Regions from separate parts of the Homo sapiens genome. Here all the other regions are linked to region 5. Evidence: promoter capture Hi-C in 16 types of primary human blood cells and fetal thymus (Javierre and others, 2016). All regions are on one chromosome and are shown on one strand. Each heading gives the region's core, a stretch centred on a gene start or on the middle of the fragment in contact. The rest is flanking DNA. Distances are from core to core; before and after follow the strand shown. Region 1 overlaps FOXO3 (forkhead box O3). Region 2 overlaps SESN1 (sestrin 1). Region 3 overlaps SESN1 (sestrin 1). Region 4 overlaps FOXO3 (forkhead box O3). Region 5 holds the start of ARMC2 (armadillo repeat containing 2).

Region 1 (2,723 bases), core at 158-2,657, 250 kb after region 5:
CCAAAACCCCAACAATGATTCCCTCCTCTCCCCATTAGCAGAGTCCTATCCTCTTTATATCAAGTTCCTCTGGAAATCAGGTTATATTTAATACCTGGAGATCCTCAACTTGTTCTTCAATACTGTATTTTCTTTCCTAGGCCAAAATGTGCGTAAATTTTCTAGACACTTAAAGTTAAAATCACCAATACCATAAGAATCATGATAAACTGGAAAATATGACAAGGAAAAAAAGGAGGGTCCTTTATCATCCCCGAGAAAGTGAAAAGTTTTCATGGCTGATGCTTTACTTGATCCACTTGTTTAATTACACTCATTAGTCTTTAGCTGCAAACATGTAGAAGGTACTTGAATGACTGAATGAATAATTGATTATAAACTTTTAAAAAGAGAAATGCCAGATTCTGCTAGTCTCCTTTATTCATTTATTTGTAAGAATGGGATCCTTCTTTGTCACAGGACACTAATTCAGCACCAGAGAAGTTACTGAGCACAACCTCATCGAAGTCATCCTACCTTCTACTGAAGTGATGAACAGTACAACCATTTTTTGCTGAAACTGGCCTGATTCACCTTAAAAATGGTACCACAGGTAAAAAAGAAAAAAAAAAACTACAGATGAAAACACAAAAAGTGAGGGAAAAAAAGTCTTACATTGAATGAATGTCAGTTTGCCATATTCCACCAGAAAGTAATTTTCAATCCAAAGATTTTTATCTCAGAAAATATAGTATATTTTCCAAGTTTTAGTAGATATGTTATTAACCCTATCTTATTCCTTTCAAAGTTACTGCCTAGTCACAGACAGAAACACTAAAACACTTCAGCATAAAGAGGGAAGAAAAGTATCTCCTACTCTACCTTGTCTTAGCAGTTCCATTAAAAGACCACTTAACTCTCAGCTCTAAGAGCTTCAAAATAGGTTCCTATAATACAAAACACACAGAAAGACACATGTACACAATCATCTATATTGCTTATATTAATCGGCCTTTATAAAAAGTTATCCACATCTATTATAAAAAAATAACCTTTGTTAATAATAAAAGGTTTTTTTTTTTGGTTTGGTTTTAATGCTATTGCTTATGACAGCACACTTGCCTCCTTCTGGATAAATATGAGGGACAAATAACAGACAGCAGCAACATACAAAAACTCAGTGATTTCCTGTAATTCTTTACCCCATTCTAGACCAAATCCTCTGAGGTTCTATGAAGCTGCAGAGTCCCAAACTTCACGCAAAAAACAAGATCTTGGTGGCATCTCTGTTACTCTGAAAGATCTTCTTAGGCCAAGTGGGATTGGAAAACTTACAGTGAAGCTTTAGGTTATGCTGCTACAGGCGTATGGCAGAAATTTACAAAGATTTTTTAAAGTAATAATGCTCTGTGTTGGCAAGGGTATGAGAATGGGCACTTTCATACATTGATGGTAGGAGTTTAGGAAGATTTTAGGAAAGAAAAAAAAGAGTGACTAGAAAAAGCAAAGCTTTAAAATTCTGTATGCTCTCAGACATCAATTCCACTTCTAGAAATAAAAGTAGATATACATTAAGATTTACCTAAAATATTTTCATCAGTGATATTTATAACAGCAGAAAAACTAGGGGGAAAAACCCTTAACAACCCATTTAGAAGAAATCAGCTAAATTAATGAAATATTTATTTCATACAATGAAATATTTTGCCATCATTAAAATGAAGTCATTGGGCATTTATCCCAGAAAAATGAAAATTTACGTTCACATAAAAACCTGTAAATTAATATTCATAGCACAAGGCTTTATTCAAAATAGCCCCAAACTGAAAACAACCCAAATGTCCATTGAGTGATGAGTGAATAAATAAAATGTAACCTAGCCATACAGTGGAACACTACTGAGTAACAAACAGGAACACACTACTGAGATGTGTAACAACTTGGATCCAGGAAATCAGGCTTAATGGAAAAAGTCAATCCCAAAAATCCATATACTGTATGATATAACATGATCACTTATGTAACATTCTTGAAATGACAAAATTATAAAAATGAAGAGCAGATTAATGGTTGCCAGGGGTCAAGTTAGGCAGGGGAAAGGAGGTAGCTGTTGCTATAAGACAGCAATAGAAGGGGGGCTGGGTGCGGTGGCTCACCCCTCTAATCCCAGCCCTTTGGGAGGCCAAGGCAGGTGGATCACCTGAGATCGGGAGTTTAAGACCAGCCTGGCCAACATGGTGAAACTCCGTCTCTACTAAAAATACAAAAATTAGCCGGGCAAGGTGGTGGGCGCCTGTAATCCCAGCTACTCGGGAGGGTGAGGCAGGAGAATCACTTGAAACCAGGAGGCGGAGGCTGCAGTGAGCCGAGATTGTGCCATTGCACTCCAGCCTAGGCAACAGAGCAAGACTCTGTCTCAAAAATAAAATAATAAAAATAAAATGTTTTAAAAAGCACTAGGACACCTTGGGAGGCCGAGGTGGGTGGATCACAAGGTCAGGAGATCGAGACCATCCCGGCTAACACAGTGAAACCCCGTCTCTACTAAAAATGCAAAAAAAAAAATTAGCCGGGCATGGTGGCAGGTGCCTGTAGTCCCACCTACTGGGGAGGCTGAGGCAGGAGAATGGAGTGAACCCCAGAGGCGGAGCTTGCAGTGAGCTGAGATTGCGCCACTGCACTCCAGCCTGGCGGACAGAGCAAGACTCCGTCAGAAAAAAAAAAGACAATAGGAAGGATCCTTG
Region 2 (2,700 bases), core at 128-2,627, 200 kb before region 5:
ATCTTAGTAGATTGTCCTTCAGGAGATAATCCTCGTGTAGGTCAGGATGTTATAAAATGAGCTTTCTTATACACTGCTTATAGACATGTAAATTGGTGTAACATAATTTTATCTTTTTATCAGTAATTCCACTTAGGGCAAAAATAATATTTCTTCACAATAGAGCTCTAAAGGAATTCTTTACTGTATTTTTTAAGGATTATAAAAAATCGAGTATAAAAATATTTTTTCACCTTTAGACTGTATCATTCTCTTCTGTTAAACTGAGAAAATTAATGAACTTGTTTTTTCCTTCCTCTTACCTCGTATTTTTGTTAGTCAAGTTATTATTTTAATATTCTTAAGATCTATGACATTTAAGTTCTATTCCATCATCATAACTTTCAGAGTTAGTCTTAGTTTCTATATTTAAGTAAATTTGTTTTTCATCATTGGTATGAATAATCGGCAGAAAATTAAATTGACAATTACTTAGATGTATGTTCAGGGAATTTTTCCCAGATCCCTCCCCCCCCAAAAAATTAAGAAAAAACGAAAAGAAATGTCTTGCCAACAATATTAAAAATATTAAAAAATTGACAAGGGAAAAACTGGGGCAAGAAGTAATTCCAAAATAAAGATGAAAACTACTAAAATTGCACAAAGTAAAGGTAATTGCCCAGACCCAGAAGGCAAACCCAAGCCTCTGTTAAATTTGTCTACATTTGGTTTATCTTAAAGGGTATTCAAAAGCTACCACTTTTAAAATTCCTGAAGTATGCATACTTATTAATACAGATATGATAGGTCCTAGAAAATATTTTCAAAACTGAGCGAGTGTTCGTCCTTCTAGTTCTTGTTTCATGAGATCCAACCTTTATGAATTTTCTTTCCCTTAAGTGTTTGAATTTCAGATAAAAGCAGTGAAAGCGTCTAATGCCTTCTCATTGCATTTAGGAATGCCAGAGTCCTTCATGTGGCCCATGAGGGCTTTCACTGGCCCAGCCTCATCTCCCAGTCTCATCTCCATATTTCCCATTACTTTCTGTGTCCTTACTTAGTTCACTGGCTTTGTTACTGCTGTTGTTCCCACTTTAATTTATAGCAGCCTCTCCTGTCTTGGGGCTTTCTCATGTTTCTCAGTCTGCATGGAATGTTCTCTCTTCCCCTCCCCCACACCATGCTTTATTAACACCAGCTTATCCTTTATATCTTAGTATAATTGTCAGTTATGCAGGGAAGTGGGATATGTGGCATATGACTTAAGCGCTCTGTTGTCTTATTGTTTGGGTTTTCATCCCAGTTCATTATTTACTGGCTGTATAATCTTAAGTTATTTGACTTATCTCTGAGCCCCAATTTCTTTATCTGTAAGGTGAAGGAAGATAATTCTTACTCATAAGATGCTGTGATTATCAAATAAGAAAATGAGAGAAGCCATATGTTTCCAACACAAGGCTTCACTAGCATTGAATGAAGTACTTCTTAAATGTTAGACAAAATTATTCCCAACCTACCTCCTACCCCCAATTCCCTGCTGTGCACACACGCACGCACACACACACACACACACATCCTAGTCTTGAACAGCTCCTTTTATTGAATAGTGACGTATATGACCATATACCTCTTATTCCTAACATTTACAACTTTCAATTACTTTATTGATTGTTTGATTAATGTCTGTCTCCCTTGACTAGATTATAAGCTCTACGGGGTAGCAGCTGTGTAGTTTTGCTCATCCTATTCTCAGTACTTAGTCTGGATTAAGTCAACAATAAATATTTGTCGAGTGTAGGGACAAATGAATGAACTAAAGGAATATTCTGTCTCGTCTCAAAACTGCATACTTAATGGTTGAAATGTTTCCTGTAGTATAGTTTTGCCTTTAAGCCTATAAATCACAAATTCAATATCAATGACTAGAGAATAATCTACTGCCAGTAACTTATATAAAACCTGCTTGTCAATAAAAATTGTTTTCAGGCCTTTTGGAATGTTTAAATATAACATTTAAAAAGTACATAATGAATACTCTCATTTTCAATAACATTGGGAAAGGATTATATTAAAACTTTAAGTGAACATTGAAGTCTAGATAAACTATTTTAAGTAATGTTTGATCTCAGCTGTCTAAAAATATACATAAGAAAGAGAACTGAAAGTAAATATACCAGTGTGTTATAATAGCAGTGGCTTTCTTTGAGTGGTAGGATTATGATCAATTTTAATCATTTTGTGTCTATGCTTATATATTTATATCAATATAGTCTTCACTTTTACAGTAAAACATTGCTTTATAATAACAAAAATTATCTTTAAAATTTTCTCAAATATTTCTGGAATTTATAGAGGGAAACTTCATTCATTTATCTAACAATTATTTACTGAGCAACTACAAAGTGCCAGGCACTGTTTTAGGCTAAGAGGATGAGATTATAATAAAATAAGCAACAATTCCTTTCTTTGTTGAATTTTCATTTTGATGTATTTGCAGCTACCTGTCTGACTTTGGTTTGAAACTTATCTTCTACATCTGTCTTATTAAAAGTAATGGCAAAAACCTCAATTACTTTTGCACCAAGCTAATAAGCCATTGTTGTCTGCTGTGGTTTGAATGTGTCACTCCAAAATTTGGGTGCTGTCAATGTGATAGTATTAAGAGGTGGGGTCTTTAAAAGGTGATTAGGCCAGAGGGCTGCTCCTTCATCAGTGGAATTA
Region 3 (2,764 bases), core at 94-2,593, 180 kb before region 5:
AATACAGTTCAACAATGATATTTTCTCTCAATATTTTGATCCTCTGGCTTCCATTCTTTAAAATTAGGCTGTCAGCTTAGTTTTCCCTTTGTAGGTAATCTGACTTTTCCCTTTCATGGACTTTAAGATCTCTTTCCTTGAAATTTTTCAGTTTTACTGTAGGCCAAGGTATAATTTTTTTAAGTTATTCTGCATGAGATTCATTGTGCTTCCTGAAAAAAAAAAAGAGTATTGGTGTCTTTAATCTGTTCTGGATAATCCTTAACCATCGTGTCTTAGAATATTACCTTTGTCCTATTCTTTCTGTTTTCTCCTTCCAATTATATATGTATTAGACCTTCTATTTCATCTTAACATGTCTTTTATTTTCTCTCTCATAAATTTCATTTCTTTGCTGTATGTGCTATATTCTGGACTCTTCAGATTTACTTTCTAGTTTACTAATAATTTTCAGCTATACTGAGTATGCTGTTTATTGAATTTTAAGTTTTAATTATTATAAAAACTATTTCATTCATTTTCAAATCTGTCTAGTTATTTTTTGATAGTTTCCTGTTTCTCACCCATACTTTCTATTTCCTTTAAAGTTTTAAAAAGCATATTGAACTGGCCTTCTGTATCTAGTATCCAAAGTCTTTGCAGATGATTTCTGGCAGTCAGACTGCATCTGACTTTGCAGTCTTAGGTGATTATTGTTTCCTGTAGTCCTCACTAATGGCATCTTTTTGCATAGTACTTTTTATTATTGTAAGCTTATATTCATTGGAATTGTATCTCCTTCAGAGAAAATCTCTATTTATTTCTAACTGGAACCTGGGGGACATAACCAGCCCACTTTATACTAAATATTTACCTTGCTTTTAAGAGCAGGTAGGTAATAAGGGAATTCATCCCCCACCTCCTTATGTGTGATCCACCTTGTGTTTATGAATATTCAGGGGAGATTTTACCCCTTCCACCAAGAATAAACCTTAAAACAGGCAAATCTTCTGTCTTCTTTTGTAAATGGGGTGTTTTTCCTTGTTCATGCTTTGAGCGTTTAGCCCCTTGGGTTTTGGCTTTATGATGGGGTCTCTGATCTACCTCCCAATTTCCCAAGTCCTAGGATTTGCCTTCTGTTTTCTGTGCTGCTGCTCTAGGTCCCTGGGGATCCACAGCTGCCAGCCTTAGTGCTCACTGTCTCCCTAGACTCCTCCTGTCGGTGGGTTTTGGTTTCTGAGGATTTCTGTTACTTTGCCAGTTCGGCCATTTTAAACAATATTTCTTACACACAGGTCTCCAATTTGTGATAGTTCCACTTAACAATTGTTTGACTTTACTAAGGTGTGTAAGCAACACACATTCAGTAGAAAAATGCTGTGGAAAGTAGTACGATACTCACAATGCTGGGCAGTGGCAGCAAGTGACAGTTCTCAGCCACATAATCACAAAGACAGACAACCAATACTCTACCATGTTGCCAGATGATTTTGCCCAACTGTAGGCTAATGTCAGCATTCTGAGCACATTTATGGTAGTCTAGGCTAGACTATAATGTAGAAGATTTGGTGTATTAAATGCATTTTTTACTTATGATATTTTCAACTTATTGAGTCATAACCCCATTGTAAGTTGAGAAGCATCTGTAGAAATATTTTTAGGTATTTTGTCCAACATGAGTAAGAAGCACTAATATCGAGGTCAGTTTTTAACCTAATCTGGGAGAGGGCGGTGCTGTCAGGGCTTTTTAAGGCTTATAGGACCATTACCCTTATAGAAAATGGCTTCCTGCTACTGTGCTATCCAAGTTCTTATTTCTGCTTTATAGAATTTTTCTGATTCTTCCTTTGTGATTAAGTGCTTCACTATTCCTTTTTTCTCTGCTATCAGTTTAATGGTAGTCCCTATGCCCTAATAAGTTACTATGGACTTAGAAACTAGATAAAGAAGCTTGTTATAATTTTGTACCAAGTAAAAGTAAATTGTCTCTAAGAGAGGCAGGTGAAGGGTTTTCCACTGAATACAGTACATATGCTATGGTATGTAAATTTTGTGACATCTATTTTACATCTTTTTTTTAATTTGTTCTAGATTCATGAGATTGTTTTTTAAAAAGTCAATTGAGATATAATGAAATGTTGCTATATCAATAGTCAACATCTATTTTGGCAAAAATTACTGATTTTCAAATGTGTGGGAAAACATTTTAAGGGTGTGTGTGTGTGATCATTGAATTTCATTCTACAGAAAAAAAAATCACTCATTCTTTGAGTAGGCAGTAACATATTTAGCCACTAAGAACAATCTACAATATTCTCTTATGCTTTAAATATATGAAAGTGACTTTAATAATGATTATTTGACAATGTAAGTCTTCATTTATGTTTTTATATTTTTCCTTTTACATAAAATGTTACATTTTGTTTATGCCAAATGGTAATTTTACTCATTTTATTTTGTTAGATCCAAACCTGTTGCTTTCTCTTTAGTATTCTATGTGCAAAGCCTGTAACATAATGAAAATGCAGTTTAAGTACCTATTTGTATGTGATGTGCCAGTAGTTGTAATTTCAAAGTAAGATAAACATATGTCCCCAAACATACTTCCCCAAATCCTTGCACCTGGGACAGAATGTACTCTTAACATAGACCAAAAGGGACTCATAAATACTCTGTGGTTGTGCCTTAAAACTGAACACAACATAGGCACATCCACTAACATTATTTATAAAAGTATCAAAAAAACATAGTGGATCATATTTTGGAGGTTAACAGTCACTGTTAG
Region 4 (2,842 bases), core at 126-2,625, 230 kb after region 5:
AAACAAATAAAACAAAACAAAAAAACACCAAAAACAATACTGGTGGGGGAAACAAATTCTCAACTCAACCAGATCCTTGCAGTAATTCTCCAAGGGGCAAGGACTCCTTCCTCTCATTTGACCCCAAAAGGAAATGTCTGAACAGATCCCTTCTCTCTCCCTGCCCACCCTGATTCAAGGAGATCTCAGGTACAAAGCAAGATAGAAAGCTTCGCTCTCCTGACCCTCCAGCTCTCCAAGAGGAACTTAAGTCTCAGATATCCCTGCCTTTTTTTTTTTTTTTTTTTTTTTTGAGACAGTCTTGCTCTGTCGCCCAGGCTGGAGTGCAGTGGCATGATTTGGGCTCACTGCAACCTCCACTTCCTGGGTTCAAGCGACTCTCCTGCCTCAGCCTCGCAAGTGGCTGGGATGACAGGCATGCGCCACCACACCCAGCTAATTTTTTTGTATTGTTAGTAGAGATGGGCTTTCATCATATTGGCCAGGCTAGGATGGTCTCAAACGCCTGATCTCAAGTGATCCACCCGCCTTGGCCTCACAAAGTACTGGGATTACTAGGTAAGCCACCACTCCCGGCTGCCCCTGCTTCTGTCTTCCCGACTCTCCATACAAAACTTGCCAGTTACTCCTTAGCTGCCTGAGGCCCACAGCCTCCCCTAATGTCACATGAACATGTCTGCACGAGACCCAAGGCCAAGCTCAAGAGGAATTCTTTCTAGTACATCCCTGTCACTAGGCACTACCTACCTGGCAAAGTACTTATGTGGCCTGACTTCAGGAGAGCTACAGACCTCTCACCTTCAATTTTCTCTCCCACATACTTCTGAAACGGACCATGCCACTGTGAGGCTTCAGGTAGGTTTCTCAGCCCTGGCACTACTGGCATTTTGAGCTGGACACATCTGCTGTGGGCCTCTCCTATGCACTGCAGGATATTTAGCACTGCACACCAGCCTGGGTGACAGAGGAAGACTCTGTCTCAAAAAACAAAACAAAACAAAAAAAAACACTAACATGGTGAAAGACTCATCCCAACAATTTTTCACTACAGTAGCTGAGGTACATCATGCACTACACACATACTTGATTCTTTCTTCCAGACGTTGCCTTGTGAATTGGATTTTGAACTGTGCTCCTGCCATGGCCTTAAGAATGACCAAGAAGTCCTTGTGGCTTGATGACATCTGATGTCTTTGAGACTCACACAGCAGGCAGTTGGCAAGGCAGCGGGCTTACTCACACAGGCAGGGGTTCCACGAGTCACCCCAATGACTACAGCCTGAATGAACTGCTGTTCCTCGTGGGCACTCCTAGCTCTGCAGGCAGAGCGAGGACATACAAGCATAGCTTTTAAAGTGCTTAATGGTGATTACACTCGTTTGGTGATTCACTAAGCAGTACAGAATGTGCCCAATTATACACTCTATTTTTTTCCAATCTTATTTCATAAACCCCAATTTCACAGGAACATAGATTTTCCATCCAAACAAAATTATCTAACTTTAACAATTAAAATACTAATTATCCTCAAAATCCTCCTTTGAAATGGGGCTTTAAATAAGATATGACTTAAATAGGCATTTTAATATTTTTGGTTGTATCATTCATTGAAACATCTAAGAAGTGCCTTCATTTTGGATAACGTGGGAGGCTACAGGCAAAGAGAGTATTGAATGTCAGCAATAAAACACTATTCAATAAAAACACCAGTATAGGCTCTGTATCAAATAAAACTTTTATCAAGTAAAAACATTTACGATATTAATTTTCTTCTCCCCTACTCCCACCCCAGGTTAAAAACTACAACTTGAAATCTTTTCATAATAAGCTGCCAACAGCAGCAGCTATTGACTAAGAGAAAGAAAAATAAAAGAAAATTGTTATTACTATAAACAAATTATTCGTTCTTTCCAAGATAAATAATGACTTGATGTTCTCATTCTCACAATCAGAAGCGTGGCTTCATAATACTAATTATCTCAGCTCCACCAGAAAACCATCATGCATTCAAACCCATTTGCTGTGTACAGCCCTACCATCTACCAGCTATAAAGTAATATGGGAGAAATACAGGGGTCCTATCTGCAAAAAGCAGGTCACTTCAGTTTTTGGGAGAAACTTCTGCATCCCACATGGAATAAAAAGATGCCACTTACCACCAGATATTTTCCTACTAAAAAAAATTTTCTCCCTCCTATTTAAGAAAAACGATAGACAAAAATTGTATCATATTAAAGTGTTAAGGGAAAATGATCCACATGTAAAAACAAATCAAAAGGCACATGAAACCACGTTAAGACCTCAAAGACAGGAATTAGTCAATTATATTATGTATTTCTGGGCTCCTGAGTACAAGCATAGTCTGTTTTTCTGACCCAAAAATCTAATAAAAGAATTTATTAACTTAAAGATCTAACAGAGGACACTGTTAGAAATTGGTCTGGGGAAGGCACCATGCTCTTGGCCAAGGAATTATTTAACTCTTCTGCACTAAGAATGGATCTGTGATGATTCACTATGACTACAGCAAATCAAGCTTGGCCCTATCCTTTGAATTTAACCTGTAAGGACAGACAGGTTTAGGATATGAAACCTCAAGAAGATGGTGCCACATCTTAGCTTGCCATGTACAGAAGACTGATTTGCCAGGCTTTGCAACCAAGCTTAAGTGAGATTTAGGCATTAAGACACGCCAAATTAAAACTCTTAAGGACCATTAATCACATCCTCATGACTTCAGATACACCAATACAACATATGCTTATGTAGGTCTGGTCTTTATTCTTAATCAGGGGTATTAGCTTCCTACTGCAACAGTCTATAGAAGGAATTGTTTCAAAAG
Region 5 (2,700 bases), core at 7-2,506:
AGATGTTAACAATTATTGCCCAAGTGCTACATGATAAAAGGATACAGCAAAATCATTTCCACGAATGAAAAACTACATTTAAAAAAAGAAATTGCAAAAGAGAGAATGACGTTTGTTCAGTGTTTCTATACATAAGTTTTTTTTTATTATTATACTTTAAGTTCTAGGGTACATGTGCACAATGTACAGGTTTGATACATAGGTATACATGTGCCATGTTGGTTTGCTGCACCCATCAACTCGTCATTTACATTACGTACTTCTCCTTTTAAAAGGTGGGTGGTGGTACTTGCCTTTATGAAAACAGATAATTTTTATTAAGCATTTTATTGAATATCAGCTATGCCAAATCAACATCAACAACCAGAATCCCATAGATTAAGAAACCAGGATAAATATAATAAATGGTGCTTGCTTTTCAACCAAATTAAAGTATAATTATTATAAATCAGGGTGGGACGTAAGATCTGTTGTGTTACTTGTGGGAATGGATCACAAAAGGCATTATGTATACACTCCATGATTTTAAAGTATGTTAAATATTGTTACACATACGTTTTTATTTATTGAGGCCCTGTTGCCTGGAAGTGCCCAGATATAAACTGTATGACTCTGGCCCGGTCACCGCCTGCCTAGACAAAGCCCCTTAGTCTACCACTCTCATTCAACAAATATTACTGGGCTTCTTATTAAGCACCACGCACTTGGCTAAGTGCGACAGTACATAAATAAAAGACAACCGCTCCGGACCCCTGACAGCATGCACAGGGCACTCATCGTCTCTCTACCCCATCCGAGGACACACAGGCGGACGACGGCAGGAAGGGTCCCTGGGGAGCCGCTGGGGACACCTCACCTCCCGCTCGGACAGCGGCTCCCCCACCCACGGCAGTGCCCGCTCCTCCACGGTCCCGGCCAGGGCAGGGCGCAGCAGCATCCTCACCCCGCCCGGCCACCCTCCCACTTCGCCCCGCAGCCAGCGTCTCCATGGTAACCGTACACAAACTACCTCCCGCCGCCGCCCCGGCAGCCAGACCGCAGGGCCAGGCCGCTGCAGGGCGGGAGAGGCGGGCCGGGGAATGAGCTTGGCGAGGGCTCAGGGAAGGAGGCTTCCGACCTGACCCAAAGCACCTGTGATGAGCACTGGAGATAGCAGCGGCTGCGAGGTTCAATTCATCCTCCGGCTCTCCCCGGGTAGCGGCCAGGGATGCAGCGCTGGCGCGGGCGGGGTAACCCCACGACGCCGCTCGGCCACTGGGCCTGCGCGGGTCCCGCCAACGCATGCGTAGAAGCTCCGAGGCGTGGCGACGGCCGGAGCGGGTGGGAGGAGCCTGGAGAGGGCTGTAGGCCGGGAGGTCAGATCAGAGCAGGCGTCGTGGGCGGGTGTCCGCTTTTCGTTTAGCAATTTGCCGAACCACATTTGTTGCTCCCCTGCCGGATCCCAGCACCTCTGTTAAATAACAGCAGGCAGGACGGAAGCTTAATGCTTGTGGGTAAGAAGGATTTACTGGCTCAGGTTAGGGCTCTGTATAACCTGGAGCCACTTGCTGAGCTTCTGTTTCCTCCGATGTCAAGTGGCAGGAAATATTAATAATAGTACCTAGGTAGGTCTTGGGCTGTTATGAAGACTGCATGAGAAAATAGATGTAAAGCGCTATGCACGTGGCAATCAACGAATATTAAACTGTTGGCTGTTATTAAGCCCTTGCATTTGTACAGCCCTTCAGTTCGCAGAGTGTATGCACGTAATCGTACCTTCTGAGTCTGAGGTAGGCAGCCTGGCGTCCCCATCCACAGGAGAGGAACTGGGGGCCTGAGGTGTAGTGAGCAGGAGAAGGAGATTCCAGTCTAGGTCTCCCGTGGCCAATCGTTTTTTGTTCGTGCATCATCACAGTTGAACGGCAAAAAGCACTCCATTTATGTGTTTCTAGTTTAAATTCCCTTTTCTCCTGTTAGACCATTTAGCAACACTGTACAGTGTTAAATAAAAGTGAGATCATAAGCACTCTCCATTCAGGTTTGCACCACGTTTTATAAATATGGAGATTTTCCAGCTGAAGTGCTATTTGTCATCAACACTGGGAAAATGCCACTTCCCTTGGTGCTAAGCATCTTGTAAAGAATAATTAAATTGAAAATATTTTTGAGCACATACTATGTGTAAGGCATCGTGCCAGGTGGGAAATTATACTAACCTGAACTAAAGGAATGTAAATATTCTTCAAAATACTCAAGAGGATTTCAAACATAACAGAAAATAAATACCTATTCGTTGATTGGATAATTTTAGGACCCGAAACAGCCCTGGATTTTTCTGCTCATTCTTAGATAACTGACAGTCTTGTTGTAACTAAATCTCAACCACAGCTTCATTTCAAAACTATAATGTTGGGTGCAAGATATAAACAAATGCATCAAACTTCAAAAAGTCTTCCTCCCCCATTCCAGCCCCAGGCTTAAGGTCTCTAGCTGGCCTTCCCTGAAGGGGTGCACTAGGCTTAGGCTTGTCCCCGACCCCCACCCGCCCCTCTATTCACTAGAGGTTGTTTAAGGCCCAGCTTGGATCAAACTGGCAGTGAGGAGGAGGAGGAGAAGGAAGGAGATGGAGCATTTCTTCCTGGAGTTGAGCAGCTTCAAGCTTGCTGTGCTGGCTTATGGTTAAAGCAGCTCATGTAGGTCTTTCCTGGTCCTTTGTAGTCT

The links. The method cuts DNA at HindIII sites, captures the fragments that hold promoters and counts their contacts. A CHiCAGO score of 5 or more calls a contact.
Region 1: a contact is called between a fragment that was not itself captured here and the fragment with the promoter of ARMC2 in region 5, in 1 of 17 cell types (megakaryocytes). The highest score is 5.3, in megakaryocytes.
Region 2: a contact is called between a fragment that was not itself captured here and the fragment with the promoter of ARMC2 in region 5, in 1 of 17 cell types (megakaryocytes). The highest score is 5.1, in megakaryocytes.
Region 3: a contact is called between a fragment that was not itself captured here and the fragment with the promoter of ARMC2 in region 5, in 1 of 17 cell types (total CD8 T cells). The highest score is 5.6, in total CD8 T cells.
Region 4: a fragment that was not itself captured here is called in contact with the fragment with the promoter of ARMC2 in region 5 in 3 of 17 cell types (M0 macrophages, monocytes and M2 macrophages); the score reaches 5.7 in M0 macrophages.

Annotation. Positions count from the first base shown.
Region 1 is chr6:108,600,996-108,603,718 of GRCh38, reverse strand. All of the region lies in intron 1 of FOXO3 (forkhead box O3), which reads right to left. Among named protein-coding and RNA genes, the nearest start is that of FOXO3, 41 kb to the right of the region's middle. The HindIII fragment of the contact is 167 bases long and covers 1,324-1,490 here.
Region 2 is chr6:109,051,900-109,054,599 of GRCh38, reverse strand. The region is part of intron 1 of SESN1 (sestrin 1); the gene reads left to right. It also overlaps a transcript of ARMC2 not described here. Among named protein-coding and RNA genes, the nearest start is that of SESN1, 42 kb to the left of the region's middle. The HindIII fragment of the contact is 3,317 bases long and covers 1-2,700 here.
Region 3 is chr6:109,023,414-109,026,177 of GRCh38, reverse strand. The region is part of intron 1 of SESN1 (sestrin 1); the gene reads left to right. It also overlaps a transcript of ARMC2 not described here. Among named protein-coding and RNA genes, the nearest start is that of SESN1, 70 kb to the left of the region's middle. The HindIII fragment of the contact is 1,177 bases long and covers 755-1,931 here.
Region 4 is chr6:108,619,707-108,622,548 of GRCh38, reverse strand. The region is part of intron 1 of FOXO3 (forkhead box O3); the gene reads right to left. Among named protein-coding and RNA genes, the nearest start is that of FOXO3, 60 kb to the right of the region's middle. The HindIII fragment of the contact is 2,327 bases long and covers 212-2,538 here.
Region 5 is chr6:108,846,978-108,849,677 of GRCh38, reverse strand. It overlaps ARMC2 (armadillo repeat containing 2), which reads right to left and starts at 1,256. Exons shown (of 18, transcript NM_032131.6): 1 at 1,132-1,256. RefSeq lists a silencer at 899-998. The HindIII fragment of the contact is 2,745 bases long and covers 1-1,481 here.